2 separate regions of the Homo sapiens genome follow, and region 1 is linked to region 2. Evidence: promoter capture Hi-C in 16 types of primary human blood cells and fetal thymus (Javierre and others, 2016). All regions are on one chromosome and are shown on one strand. Each heading gives the region's core, a stretch centred on a gene start or on the middle of the fragment in contact. The rest is flanking DNA. Distances are from core to core; before and after follow the strand shown.

Region 1 (6,713 bases), core at 2,312-4,811, 1.7 Mb before region 2:
TTTTTGGGTATGAGCATTGAATATTTGTTCATCATTTCATCTTCTACAGTTTATACTGTGGCTAAACTATTTGAGGGTTTCAATAAAAGATTTTTTTTCTCTGCAATATCTGATGATCTCAGTCTTTGGGTCATAGTATGAATCATACAATTTACGGATGTCTTTACTCTCTTTTACTCTCCCCTAAAATTTTCTAGGACTAAAGATTATTGAATACAAATAAAGATAAATAAACAAATAAACCTTAACAAGATGAGGAAAACAATCCTCTAAATTCGTATATCTAGTCATTACCAGAATATTTCTGACTGTATTCACATATACTTTCACATTATATGTCCTTAAGTGTTTCTTTGTACAATTTATTTTTAGCCATATTACTGCAGCAGAATTGCAAAGCCTCAAAATTTGTATAAGCAGTAATAATTCTTATTTTTATATAATTATTTTTATAAGTTAAATGAAACACCTATCCTATATGTAGATTAAAAGATTAAATAATAGCCCTTACAATAATATTAATTATTTACTTACAGTTAGTGATTGATAATATTACTTGTATATATTCCAGACTTACAGAACATTTTTCCTGAGAGATGATCAAGCTTCCATGGGTTGTTTTCAGTCCTGGATTTATAATTCCAGAGGTATAGAAAATATTGTTGAATGTTATTATTTACTTCAGAATTTAACAGTAAATACACGTTTTAGAGAGTGAAGCGTAATTAAGTAAATTCCCTAGATGATGTCAAAAATATTAATAGTCCATGTATGTTTAATTATATGAATGCAAGTTCTGTTATTTGTGTGAGAAAATTAAAACAAATGTTACAAGCAGAAAATTGCTTATAGAGTGTCATCAATTAAGGCTGACATTTGTCTCTATCATAAGACTATAATTTATGTTTTTATACTTTATATTCAGTATTAACAATAAAACCTATTTGCATATGACTATAATTAAACTAGCATTTATCTTTAAATTTTTTATAAGCATTTAAAAGATGTTACATGTTTTTATCCACTTGTACCATTCAAGTAAATAACTATAGATTAGGCTTAGATCAGCTTGTTACCCAATAACAGAATTTGTTGGCTTTCATGTTTTATGGAAAACTGACTGCTGTTCAGACTATTGACACTAAACTGTAGGGAGTATTTTCACTGACTATACCCTGGTGTTAATATAATCTATAACTTTCAGTAAAAATATTAATGTTTTTAGAATTTTAGATACCAGGGTGTTTCAATCCATCATTTGTATTCCTTTTTATGAGATAAATGAATCCAAATTTCAGTGTACAATACCTGCTGTAAAATGTTTATATCAAATGTAAAATATAGACAGCAGTAAAATATGGGATGTGAAAGATTTAGTAATTTTTTTATTTCTTGTCAAACAGTAGGATAATATTTAGAGATAAGAGGCAAAATTTATCCTGAGTAAGGGAAAGTTATTCTGCCTTTTAAAATGTTCGTAAGCCTATCCAAGGTTTCAGTATTTTTGTGTGTTTTTTATTATTAGAGGAAAGTTAACAATTCCCTTTGATCTTAATGATGTTACATCATTGTAGCATGAAAGGAATAGTATAACCTCAACCAACTTTTTCTGTATTTAGTTTTCAGCAGTGCTGACAATTGTCTATGCCATGATAAAAAGAGAACGAAAATGTGTTGGAAGAGGCACCTGGGAGTGTAGTTGTCTCAGAGGGAACACCACATTTGTTCCTATGACACATTTTCATTGAAAGAAAAAAGAAAAAGAAGAAAGAAAAAGAAAGAAAGAGAGAAAGAAAGAAAGCAAGCAAGATAGCAATCAAGCAAGCAAGGAAGGAAGAAGAAAGCATCTTTTCTATTTCCCTTTCTTTTTATTTCTGTGTCTTTATTTCTCCTCTCTCTCTCTTCCACTTACTCCTCTCTTCCTCTCCCCTTCCTTCCCTCTCATCCTCGCCCCTTCTCTTCTTCTTTTTACCCCTACCCCCACCACCTTGTTTCTAGTCTTCCACAGTATTTTCTTACTAATACAAGGAGTGACTTAGTCCTGGTTAGAACAAATATCATAGAACGTCTTTACACTAAGCCTAGAGGTTTGCCTGTTGAAAGAAAACCACTAACTAAGTTTATCAAGGCATTGATCACCACCACCCCATTTACATGCTTTAATATTATATAGTATGCACCACATGACGTTAAAACATCAGGTTAAATTGCTTTTCTTTCAGAATAAACAGAGGCAAAAAGATGTAGTTATAATGTGTAGTAAAGTTTCTACATCTGCAGGATATACTCCTTTTTAAGACTTATTATTTTGATGATGGTGTACAATAAATCTCATTACTTGTGGGAGCCAAAAAGTTAACTGCTAATTCCATGGGTACCAAGGGGGCTGGACCCTATTACCAATTGTCTAGTACTAAGAATGACCTCATTATGTTATGATAAAAATTTTTAGCACATTCTAGACACTGAAAGACAGAGGTAAGTAAAGCCAGGTTAATCAAAATAGGGATCTTATAGCCTAGTAGAAGAGGTAACCCATAGAAAACAGATTTTTATACAGTACACTAAGTGATGATATAATGGTATGTTTAGGTTGCCATCGTAAATGAGGTAAATTCAACTCATATCAGAGATCCAGGAAAGGAGTTTAAAGGAAATACTTAATATGAGTCTTTAATAATAAATACAAAATTTTAAAATAAAGAATGGAAAAAAGTCATTTTCCTTCAGCACACTGTCAGAACATCACAAAGATGTGAAAATAAATATTTCATGTAGGAAATTCTGGCTTGTTCTGTTGCAGAAGCCTTACTCCTTAGCTTAGCGAGGTCTGAGTTCTTGTCTCACCACCACGATGAATGAGGTACATGGACATAGGAGGGTGAGTATGGCAGAATAGACTTTATTAAGTGACAGAAAGCGCTCAGTAAGGAGAGGGGACTCAAAAGTGGGTTGCCCTAGGGGATTAAAAACCTCATTTCTAGGGGTGTGTTTCTCATTTGCATCTTGCACAACCTTTTACTTCCTAGTTGCTTCCTGGTCCCAGTTCTTACTGCCCAGGTGCGTTCTTGTCCATAGTTATTCCATCTTAATTATTATGCATAAGCACCACAGAAAGGCCCAGTGGGTAGTAGGGGTGGTGGTGGTGAAACCACAATGCAGATGTCATGCTAATGATATTATAATGAGCTTGAGTCAAGTTAAGGACATTTAGTTGATTTATTACACCTGCGCCTAAGTTGGGACAGTCCCTTCTGAGCAAACATTCTGGTATAAGAGGAAGTTCTTAACCACATTTCCATCTGCTAGCTGCATAACAGGGGCAATGCAGGTGCATTCCTGCATGCATTGTCTCTCTCATGAAGCCCTACATCTCCATCGTACCACTTGCATACATAAAAAAGGTAAGTGAGATTAAAGATACACTTGGATAGAAGCAGGTCACAAGGGCTCTTGTGTTTTGTTAGAAATATCAGCATTATTATAATTTGAAATATGTTGTAATGAGCATTTATATGACACTTCTATATTTCCCCAAGAACCAGCTGCATATTTTTAAATATTGTATGTTTAAGATTTTCAAGAGGCTTGTAAATTTTTTGAGTTTCATAATCTTTAACAATGCAAACCAAAATACTTAATCAGTTCTTACTTAGTCATTTATGAAGTTACCCATGGGAAAATTATGTTTACTGATATTTTAACCCTGTTTCTATCACTTACTTATTCATCCAACTTCCAAAACCAGTGTTCTTTGGCCCTTCTCCTCAGTTTGTTTTGTTAATAAAAGTTATAAATTTAAAAAATAATAATAATAGAAAAATACATCTGTAACAAGCCATTATTTTATGCTATTTCTCTTCTTCCCAAATTTGGACTAAAAAGGATTTAAATATAAATGTTTGTTTTAAGTTTTTTATTTTATTTTAGTTCAGGTATTGGTTTTTACTGGAGAGGTTAGAGAAAGTGATTTCAAAGGGCAAAATCAACTCAAAATTGTAAAAGGAGAAAATGGAAAAAAAAAAGCGATGATATTCATGACTGATTATCTCCTTCAAGAAAGGAGGGAGGAAATGAAATGTGCTCAGTCTTCTCTTGTAATCTCTTTTCCCAAAGTTACCTCTTGACATTTTTGGATGTTCTGTCACAAGAAAGTTGATCTTTCCATTTCTTTGGTTACTTAGCTTTTAATCTATCTGTTTGCATACATGCTAGAGAGCGATGAGTGATTTGTCGTCTACATAGAAGTGGAAATTTATAGTCTGAAAGAAAATAATAGTTTTCTTTTCTTTTATCTGTTTTATTATTTTCATTATTTGAAATTCTAGTAAGTAATATTCTTCCTTCAAAGTAGCTGTCACTTACAGCTTTCTTAACCTGAGTCTCAGAAAGAATTCAACAAAGCTGTATCTTTCTGTCTTTAAAATATTATTTCTTCCTGTTTCTATCAGTCACTTATGTCATAATAAATATTAAAACTGACAGGCAATATATTTTAAGTGCTACTGTAAAAGCATTGTTTTGCTATAAATAAACAAGCTCATTTCTCTAGGACTTAAATAGGAATACAGATTTGATACATTCTCTTCCCCTATTAAACATCTGTGGCAAGATGCCATTAGGGAGTTGTTAGATTTGCTGGAATTTTCCACTATGCCAGATATTAAATTACCTGTCATATGTGTTCTGAAGTATACAGAAGGTTGTAATCGTATAAGGATGCTGAATGTGCTGACATTTTCATTGCCCTGAATATAAGTAAACATAATTATTGGCTCTTCCTATAGGGTTTTAATTGATATGTTGACCAGTAGCCATGAGTGGGTTTGTGAAGACAACAGGATATAAAAATGGATGTCTTTACAAATCCACTGTCTTTTGTAAAGAAATGCATCATAGAGCAATTATAAAATAATTTGCATTATTTTATATCATTAAATTAATATCAGGGTATAGGTTATGAAAACTACATGATTCAAAATAGACACTATAAAAAAAGAATGCTGTTGGAGTGGGAAGAGGCCAAATGAGCAGCCACCATTTTGCACCTCTACTGTGGCATGGCCACGTTGCACAGTGCTCAGTCAGGAAATGCGATTTACACATCCAACTCCTAGCCTATTCTTCCCAATTACTATGATTTTCTTCCTGCTTTTGTCACTATTTCTGAGTTCCCATTTATCTAGTACACTGGGATTGGGTAACTGCAACTCTGGATACTTAATAATTAAAAAATTGCATTATTAGGAATGATATTCGACTTCCCACATAGATTCTTGTGTTTTTCTCAAGTCTTTTTTCATGTTCTGTATTGAAATCTATCCCCGTATAATCAACCTACTTTCCATGTTTCTGGGTCTCTGAATAAATTCCTTCTTGGATTTGTCTGTACATAATGGCATATTGTGGCTATTTTCCCATTCTCATATATTTTATGAGGAGAGGTCTTGCAATTCTCAAGGCAAATCAGGAATGATCTGCCATGTTTTAGTTCAAAAATTACTTCTGGATGAGCACAGTGGCTCCCATCTGTAATCCCAGCAGTTTGGGAGGCTGAGGTGGGAGTATCACTTGAGGCCAGGAGTTTGAGACTAGCCTGGGCAACATGGCAAGACCCTGTCTCCACAAAAATTTCAAAAAACCAAAAACTCAGCCAGATGCAGTGGTGCACACCTGTAGTACCAGCTACTCCAGAGGCTGAGGCCAGGAGAGTTAATTGAACCCAGGAGTCAGAAGTTGCAGTGAGCTACGATCATGCCACTGCACTTCAGACTGGGAAATAAAGCAAGACTGTATCTCAAAAAAAAAAAAAAAAAATTACTTCTGTCATTAAACTGGTACATAAATTCAATAATATGTAGGAATGAAAAACATCCTTAAAGTTGTAAGGATTGGTCCGGCACGGTGGCTCATGCTTGTAATCCCAGCATTTTGGGAGGCCAAGGCGGGTGAATCACCTGAGGTTGGGAGTTCGAGACTAGCCTGACCAACATGGAGAAATGCCGTCCCTACGAAAAATACAAAAAAATTAGCTGGGTGTGGTGGTGCATGCCTGTAATCCCAGCTTTTCAGGAGGCTGAGGCAGGAGAATCATTTGAACCCAGAAGGCAGAAGTTGCAGTGAGCCAAGATGGCGCCATTGCGCTCCAGCCTAGGCAACAAGAACGAAACTCTGTCTCGAAAATAAAATAAAATAAAATAAAATAAATTGTAAGGATTATTGTGATTTCTGATTGAAAATTCAAATATCTACATTGTTTAAATATATATAACTCTGGGACTTTGCTTTTCAGAATCACTCACTTTTTCATTCATTTATTAATTATTCATATTAAAATAACTTAATGATAACCTAATATTTGCCAAGCTCTATTCTAATCACAGATCTATCTGCAGAAATCTCTGTAAAAATATACAATATAAATGTATAAAGACTTCTGCTTTGTAGAGCTTACATTTTAATGAGAAATACCAATGAACCAAGATAAGTACCAATAAGATACCAGTAAGAAGCTTATAAGGCCCATGAAAAGAAAAACTAGTACAAAATAAGGGAAATTGAGAGTGTGGGGTGGGGTGGGGCGGGCATTTGCATTGTGTAGTGGAGATAGCAGGTAAAGCAAATACCTATTGTCTTCATATGTTTTACATTAGCAAGGGGTCAATGTGGATGGAGTGGATGAGGGAAAAAATAGTTAGAATTAAAGTTAAGAA
Region 2 (6,365 bases), core at 1-2,500:
TCATGGCTTATTATAAAAATTTCTTTACTGTTTTAATTTGTAATTTTCCATTACTTTTTATTTAAATAATCTATATTTATCTTAATATTGTGTATTAATTTGCTTTCCTTTTTTGTTTTTCAATACCCTCTTGGTAAAACTAGTGTGTACTTTTACAATCGAAACATAGAGTGTTTAGAACAAGTTTAGGTCTCCACGATGATTTTGCCTCCACTGTTTTCTCCTGATAATTATTTGAAAGAAATACATTTCACCGATAGAATCTAATTCTCAGAGTGATTATAAATGCATTGGTAATGGATTGAGTTGTATTAGTAGTATGCCAGAATTAGATTTGTTTCCTCCATTATTTAAATGAAATCTTAAAGTATTATGAAAATAAATAAATTTTCTTAAAGCAATTCTGTCTGTTTACATATATCTGCATTTAAATATGTTTCTTTATTTTATGATATAGCATGTTACATAAAATTTAGTAAAATTTGGAGCAATTTATATTTTAGTGAGCTTTTGTTGACCACAGCACACAAATTTCTTGTCCTTTAAAAAATTCAAGAAATTTGTGCATAGTTGTGCTTAAGCATAACATAAAAGAATAAAAAAATTCTACAAAATCAAGATTAACAATGTTTCAGATAAACCTTATAATAATCCACACCTGGCTTCAGTACAGTTAACAAAGGATGGAACTAATAATTTGGTAATGCATGATTTTTGAAACAAATAATTCAGCTATGTCTGATTTTATAATATGTTTTTATCTAAACATATAAAATGAAAAACATTTAAAATGAAAATATACACAAAAACATAAAATGAAATAATATACTTTAAAACTGTAGCATTTCCTCTGTTGCCCAACTTAGAAGATTTATTTATATAAGGAGTGACTCTAAGTTTTGTTTTAAATATAGAAAGCCAGGCAAAAGAATATGTGTTTGTTAGTTTGTCTTTTTTTCTTAGAAAAACCTCTGTTAACACTCCCAGAAGTTCTACCATTGAAATCAGCATCTGCTAGTGATTTATAGCAAGCCAATAGTCTTGTATTTATCAACTATTTTATAGAATCTCATACTTACAAATATATCCTGTCGAGCAGTCCACCATGCTAAATTTGATCTCCTCTTTGTTATGATCCGTTTGAAATCAGGTTCTGAAATTTTGTGAGACACCCAGCATTTTATTTTTCCCAGAGTAAAAGGATTTTACTGTCTCTATAATTACCTTCGATGGCACTCTGGCCTCAGTATGAATGTTCTGTTTTTACACACACGTATCTATGCAAAGAGAGGTTTTGTTGAATATGGAAAGTAGTGCTGTAGGACTCCAGTGCATTACTGATAAAGAGGTTTTATCTAACATTATCAGACCATCTGAAGTGATCAGATGATTGGAAGCAGCAGCTTCATGAAATCTTCAAAGTAATACTCAAATCTTTTTCTCCAAAATAATTTTTCTAGTTTTAGAAAATGTATAGTCTAAAGTAAAATTCCCTTTTAAAAAAGACAGAGAACTGAGTACAAACACATAGGACATCACTGCAAACACATGTTAGCAAATGGTTGAGAACTATTAAAATCAATCTGTTTGTAATAGATTACTAGGGACTTTTAACAACTGAAGGATCTAAAAAAGTATCTTTTCTAGTTATACCTCTCTAGTTCCTTCAACTGGTCCTCTACAGCAGTTCTGGACTCCGTTGTTCTACAGTTTGTTAACATGCCTTCAAAATCTGAATTGAACACAGTGCTTAAGATAAGGTCTAATGAATACAGAATATGGTAAGATTGTGAATGCCCTTGTCCTGGATTTACTCCAATTGTGTGTGTGTGTGGGGAGGGGTGGGGGAGTTGGGGGGTTTGGGGGGAGAGAGAGAGAGAGAAACAGAGAGGTAGGAGTAAAGAAATGCTAGAATAAAACAGCAGTAAAGAAGATCAAAATGTGGTTGATGGAGTGTTTCTTAAAATATTTAGGGGCCCAATGAGATAGAAGATTAACCTTACTTGTCTTTTATAATTTTGAGATTCAAACCCAAGAAAATTGAATTTCTCAAACCTGAGAGATAAGTTTGGGACTAGAAAAGGAAAGGAAACTTTGGAAAGTCAGAAGCTGCGTAGATGTAGCAATAATGTAGGAAGTGAAGGGCAGGTTAGCCTCAGCTTGGGAGGATCTGGGTTGTTTGTGGATAGCACTCATTTTCTCTGGGTGCTAGGTGTGCGATTTCCTCCCCACTCAGGACATTTTGGATGCTGGATCTCTTCAGGAAATCTTCAGTGTCATAGTCAAGACTTTTCCTCACCCCAAATAATTCATTTTTTTGGGATTTGGAATGTTTGCTCTTTCTCATGGTGTGGATGCAAGGAGCTGGCAGGAAGATTCTGGAAGTAACACCCTGTGCGAGTGTCAGTTTCAAAGCTTGTTTAATGGAGTCAAACATGAGAATCTCCCTACAGAGTAAAACTTAAGTATCGACAGGGACTGAAAAACAAATAAATCATAGAGTGAAGAGTAACAGCACGAGTAGGTGGAAATTCCTGGAGGAATTCAAGAGCAATGTGTAGATATTTGTGGCAGATTTCTAAACATGGTTTTGTTTCTCTGAAAAAGTGTAGTTCAAGTTCAGTTTATGAAATCATAGCAATATAATGCTTTGTACGGCACATAGGTGGATCAGACTAATTCAGAGCTGTCAGGTTAGGGCAGGTAACAGGATTATGCTTTCGTTGGTGCAGCTTGGGAATGCCCTTTCCATTGAAAGGCTGTCCTTCTGATGAACTGATCTGCTTACTCTAGAGCACTTTTACTATATTTCAATTTCAGCCAATGTAAGTCCAAAGTAACACAAGTTCAAATGTGCACAATTAAAAATCTTTAATATTTTTATGTTGAAAGTTCAAAATGAACTTTACAAGAGCAGAAAAATGAAGTATTAGAAATTATAAATTCAGAATTTGCCATTTATGTCTTCTACAAAAAGTGGAGAAATATAATTACTGGTTAATGTTCGTGATGACAGCTTAAGAAATAAGCCTACTATTTTCAGTGCATCCTATTTATACTATATAGTGTTTGCCATTTGTTCAGAGGGTGGCTCTTTTCAATATATTCTAGAAGCAAGATAAACTCTTGGACACTGGGGTGAATTGTCTGGTGAAATGTATCCAGTAGGCAGTGGTTTGTGCCAGTGTTTGGAAGAAGACTGGCTTCTGCTCCTGCTTTCCATGGACGCTGATCTGTCCCTCTTAGCCTTTCAGGTCTGTCCTCTCTGCCTTCATTTTCTTCCAAGCTTCTTTGCAGCGCATTCTCAGTCTGTCTTCATACACTCATTGTCCGCATCTTGGAGTGGACGACTCAGAGACTTGACCAGTCTCCCGTCCCCTCTGGTTTGCTGCCAATTAGAAACAATCTAACTTTGGTTTCTGACTTGTGTGAACCCAAAATATACCGACAACAAAAATTAGGAAGAGATTACTGAGCATTGAACACTATTGTTAGCATAAAATAAACCTCAGTAGCAATTAAAGTTAGTTACCAATTCTGTGTGCATTTATTCAGATGATTTGCTTTAAAGATGTCTTTAATTATAATCATGGTCCTGTTATGCTATAAAGTTTAGTCACTAACTCCCAATCATTCTTAGTTCCCTTTTGGTAGCTGCTTTAAATCCATTCTCTTGGCCCTTCCAGAAAGTCGGCAGTGCTCTCAGGTTTCAGATCTCCAGCATGTAATTGAAAAAACCAGTGGTCCTACTTGGTTTCTATTTTCTTCTGAGCACTTGGTGGATTGTCTTGTCCTTCCTGACTAAATTCTGGGGAATTCATTCAAATCTTATTGTTTCCACCAGTGTATTTGGGGTAACATTAACATAGGAAAGTGTTCTTTTCCCGGAAAAAAAAAAGGAGACACTCCACAGTTGTTTAATTTGCACTGAGATGAGTCTATTAGCTCTTTTGTACTTTCACATTGTTTGATCTGTGAAATTCTCTAAGGATGGGGTTAAGGGCACGTCCCTTTGAAGAGGATTTGCACTGGCTCTGTCAGGCAGCCCAGGCACTTCTCTAACACAAGACTGCTTTGTTATTTTCTTAGCTTGGGTCTCCTGGACCACACAGGTAGGGTAAATTTAAATTACAGACCTGGTTTTATGCTGAAATAGACATGTTCCTGTCATCAATTTTTGTAGGTGACTTGTTTTTTTTCTGTCTGCTGTTTCACTGAAGGTATAGCAGTTCAAGAGCCCCCGGCTCATATTAGGACAGCCTTTGATTTTGTTTCCTGGCTTGCAACAGATCTTAAAAGCCAGATCTCTAGGTTACTGAGATTAGCAAATGCTGAACTCAGCTAAACTTTAAATGCCAGTTTATCACTCTGATTTAGGATTCCCTCTGTTTTTTTCTTGATTTCTCTTAGTTTTGGCAAGCTTGCCTATGCATTTAAATGGGGTTGTTACATATTTTTTTTTAGCATTTCTGGATGTCTGGTAGAGAGAAGATTTTCAAGATATGTCTCGTCTACCATGCTTTCCTTTTATATAAGATAATGTTATATACTCATTTTAGATAAAAGTAAATGCAATAAAATGTCAAGGAAATTGGAACTTTAGCATTTCCTTGTTATCACAGATGGAAAGCATCGTTTGCTTCTTTAGATGCGGAATGCTTTGAACATACAAGGCCCACTGATGTGCAGTTGCAAAGCTGAAGCCTGTTTCCAATCACCTAATCAACTCACTATCCCTTATTGTTTAGATAAGCCTGTCCTGTTCTGCCATGTGCAAAGTATATAAATTTTCTACTATAGAAGTACAGAACAAACATACTTGTGCCACATTTCCGGTTTTTTTTTTCTTATCACAGAAATTAAAATGGTTTTTCTGTAGATCACCATTGAAATACTTTTTGTCTTATTCTTGAAACAAATCTATCCTCAGGACTTACGTGGTGTCTGGTGATTGAGGGCAGTAGATGGCTAGGTAGTGAATCAGAGGCAGGGAACATTTTAAAAGAAATAGGTACCTCAGTCAGCTGATAGGAGAGACTAAAAGAGCGCAGAGCTCAGAATTAGCCTGCATTCCTTCTCCCTGCTTTACCAAAGGAGTCTCCCACTTTTCTCATTCATGCTTCAAATGCATATGTGGACATAGCATTCAGACTGATGTAGTAGATGCTCAATAAATATTCAAAGAATAGATGGATATAGTTTTTTTTTCCCAACAGGATTTATCCAAGCTAAAAACTACCCTAATGTTCATTTTAACCAATTTTCACTTAGATAAAAATTATAGGGTGAAGTTTGGGAAGGATTATATTGTACAAGCTTCCCATATCTCATACTTTCCTAAGAAGTAGTTCTGCCTCTCTGACTGTAACCTTTTTGTAACCTATAATTTGTGTAGTGGTTAATGAGATATATCTGGAGATGCTTTGTAAGTATAATTTACACAAATATATATTTTTATGAGGCATGCAAATTTAAACAATGGTGTCCTTGTGACTTAGTCAAACAAGGAACTAGAATAAAATACAAGGCAAATGTTTTTCTTTAGGATTATGACACTATATCTTAAAACCTCTGAAAGATATGATAATGCAAATAAGATTAGATAAAACAAGTTTAGTTTTGTAGAAAAGGCAAAGAATTTTAAAAATTGCAATCCCAGAAGCTTCAGAAACCTACTTTGGTATGCTTTCCTCCATACAAAAAGTGTTGTTTAATTCCCCCTCAAGTCTGAATATTTGAGGAGTTGCTTTAAGAACTGTAAAACTAGTGCATCAACTACATGCTTTTTGCAGATATGGAAAATATTTTCTTAAAACATTTTTACACAAAGGAAAAGTAATTTTGCCCAAAGAAAATAACATCCAAAGGAAAATGAAGAGTGATTGGTGTTATAAGAAATATAATCCTGGAGGCCTGGAACTACATAAGGCATCCTGAATGTACAGCGTGGGGCCAATAGAGATTACACAAATGATTTTTATAGATGAAGCTGAGCAAAGGGGCAGAATGGGAAGAAGAACAACGGGGACCGAGACACAAGAAGGATGACTTTTGTTTGAAAAAGAAAATGTTCAGGGCATTAAAAACACATGCCCTTTTTTTACCCCATAACATTTTCAAACACTACAGAAAATAATATCTAATAAACCGTGAAGCTTGTTTTAACTCTTTTAAAAACTTCCAAACAAAGGAACTTAGGAAAAATGGCATTCTAGTTATATTTTCCCCCAGATCAGTGGGAATTTATTTCATCTTATTGCTTTTCCAAGTGAGTAGGCAGAAAGTAAATAGAAATGTGAAATTTGTATCGATTGTTTGCTTTCCTTATAACCTTTGCCAAAGAGCTTTGTGAAGGCAACTTTTCT

Evidence for each region. Contacts are between HindIII fragments. The CHiCAGO score rates a contact against its expected background, and 5 or more counts as called.
Region 1: a contact is called between a fragment that was not itself captured here and the fragment with the promoter of RGS13 in region 2, in 1 of 17 cell types (total B cells). The highest score is 5.4, in total B cells.

The regions. Positions count from the first base shown.
Region 1 is chr1:194,286,287-194,292,999 of GRCh38, reverse strand. The region is part of intron 2 of LOC107985242 (a long non-coding RNA gene); the gene reads left to right. LOC105371670 (a long non-coding RNA gene) reads left to right here. Exons shown (of 3, transcript XR_922390.2): 2 at 572-647; 3 at 1,620-1,761. Among named protein-coding and RNA genes, the nearest start is that of LINC01031, 980 kb to the right of the region's middle. RefSeq lists a silencer at 3,234-3,434. The HindIII fragment of the contact is 5,907 bases long and covers 608-6,514 here.
Region 2 is chr1:192,631,032-192,637,396 of GRCh38, reverse strand. RGS13 (regulator of G protein signaling 13) reads right to left here and starts at 1,250. Exons shown (of 7, transcript NM_002927.5): 1 at 1,080-1,250. LOC107985241 (a long non-coding RNA gene) reads right to left here. Exons shown (of 2, transcript XR_001738348.2): 2 at 2,847-3,388. The HindIII fragment of the contact is 2,675 bases long and covers 1-2,417 here.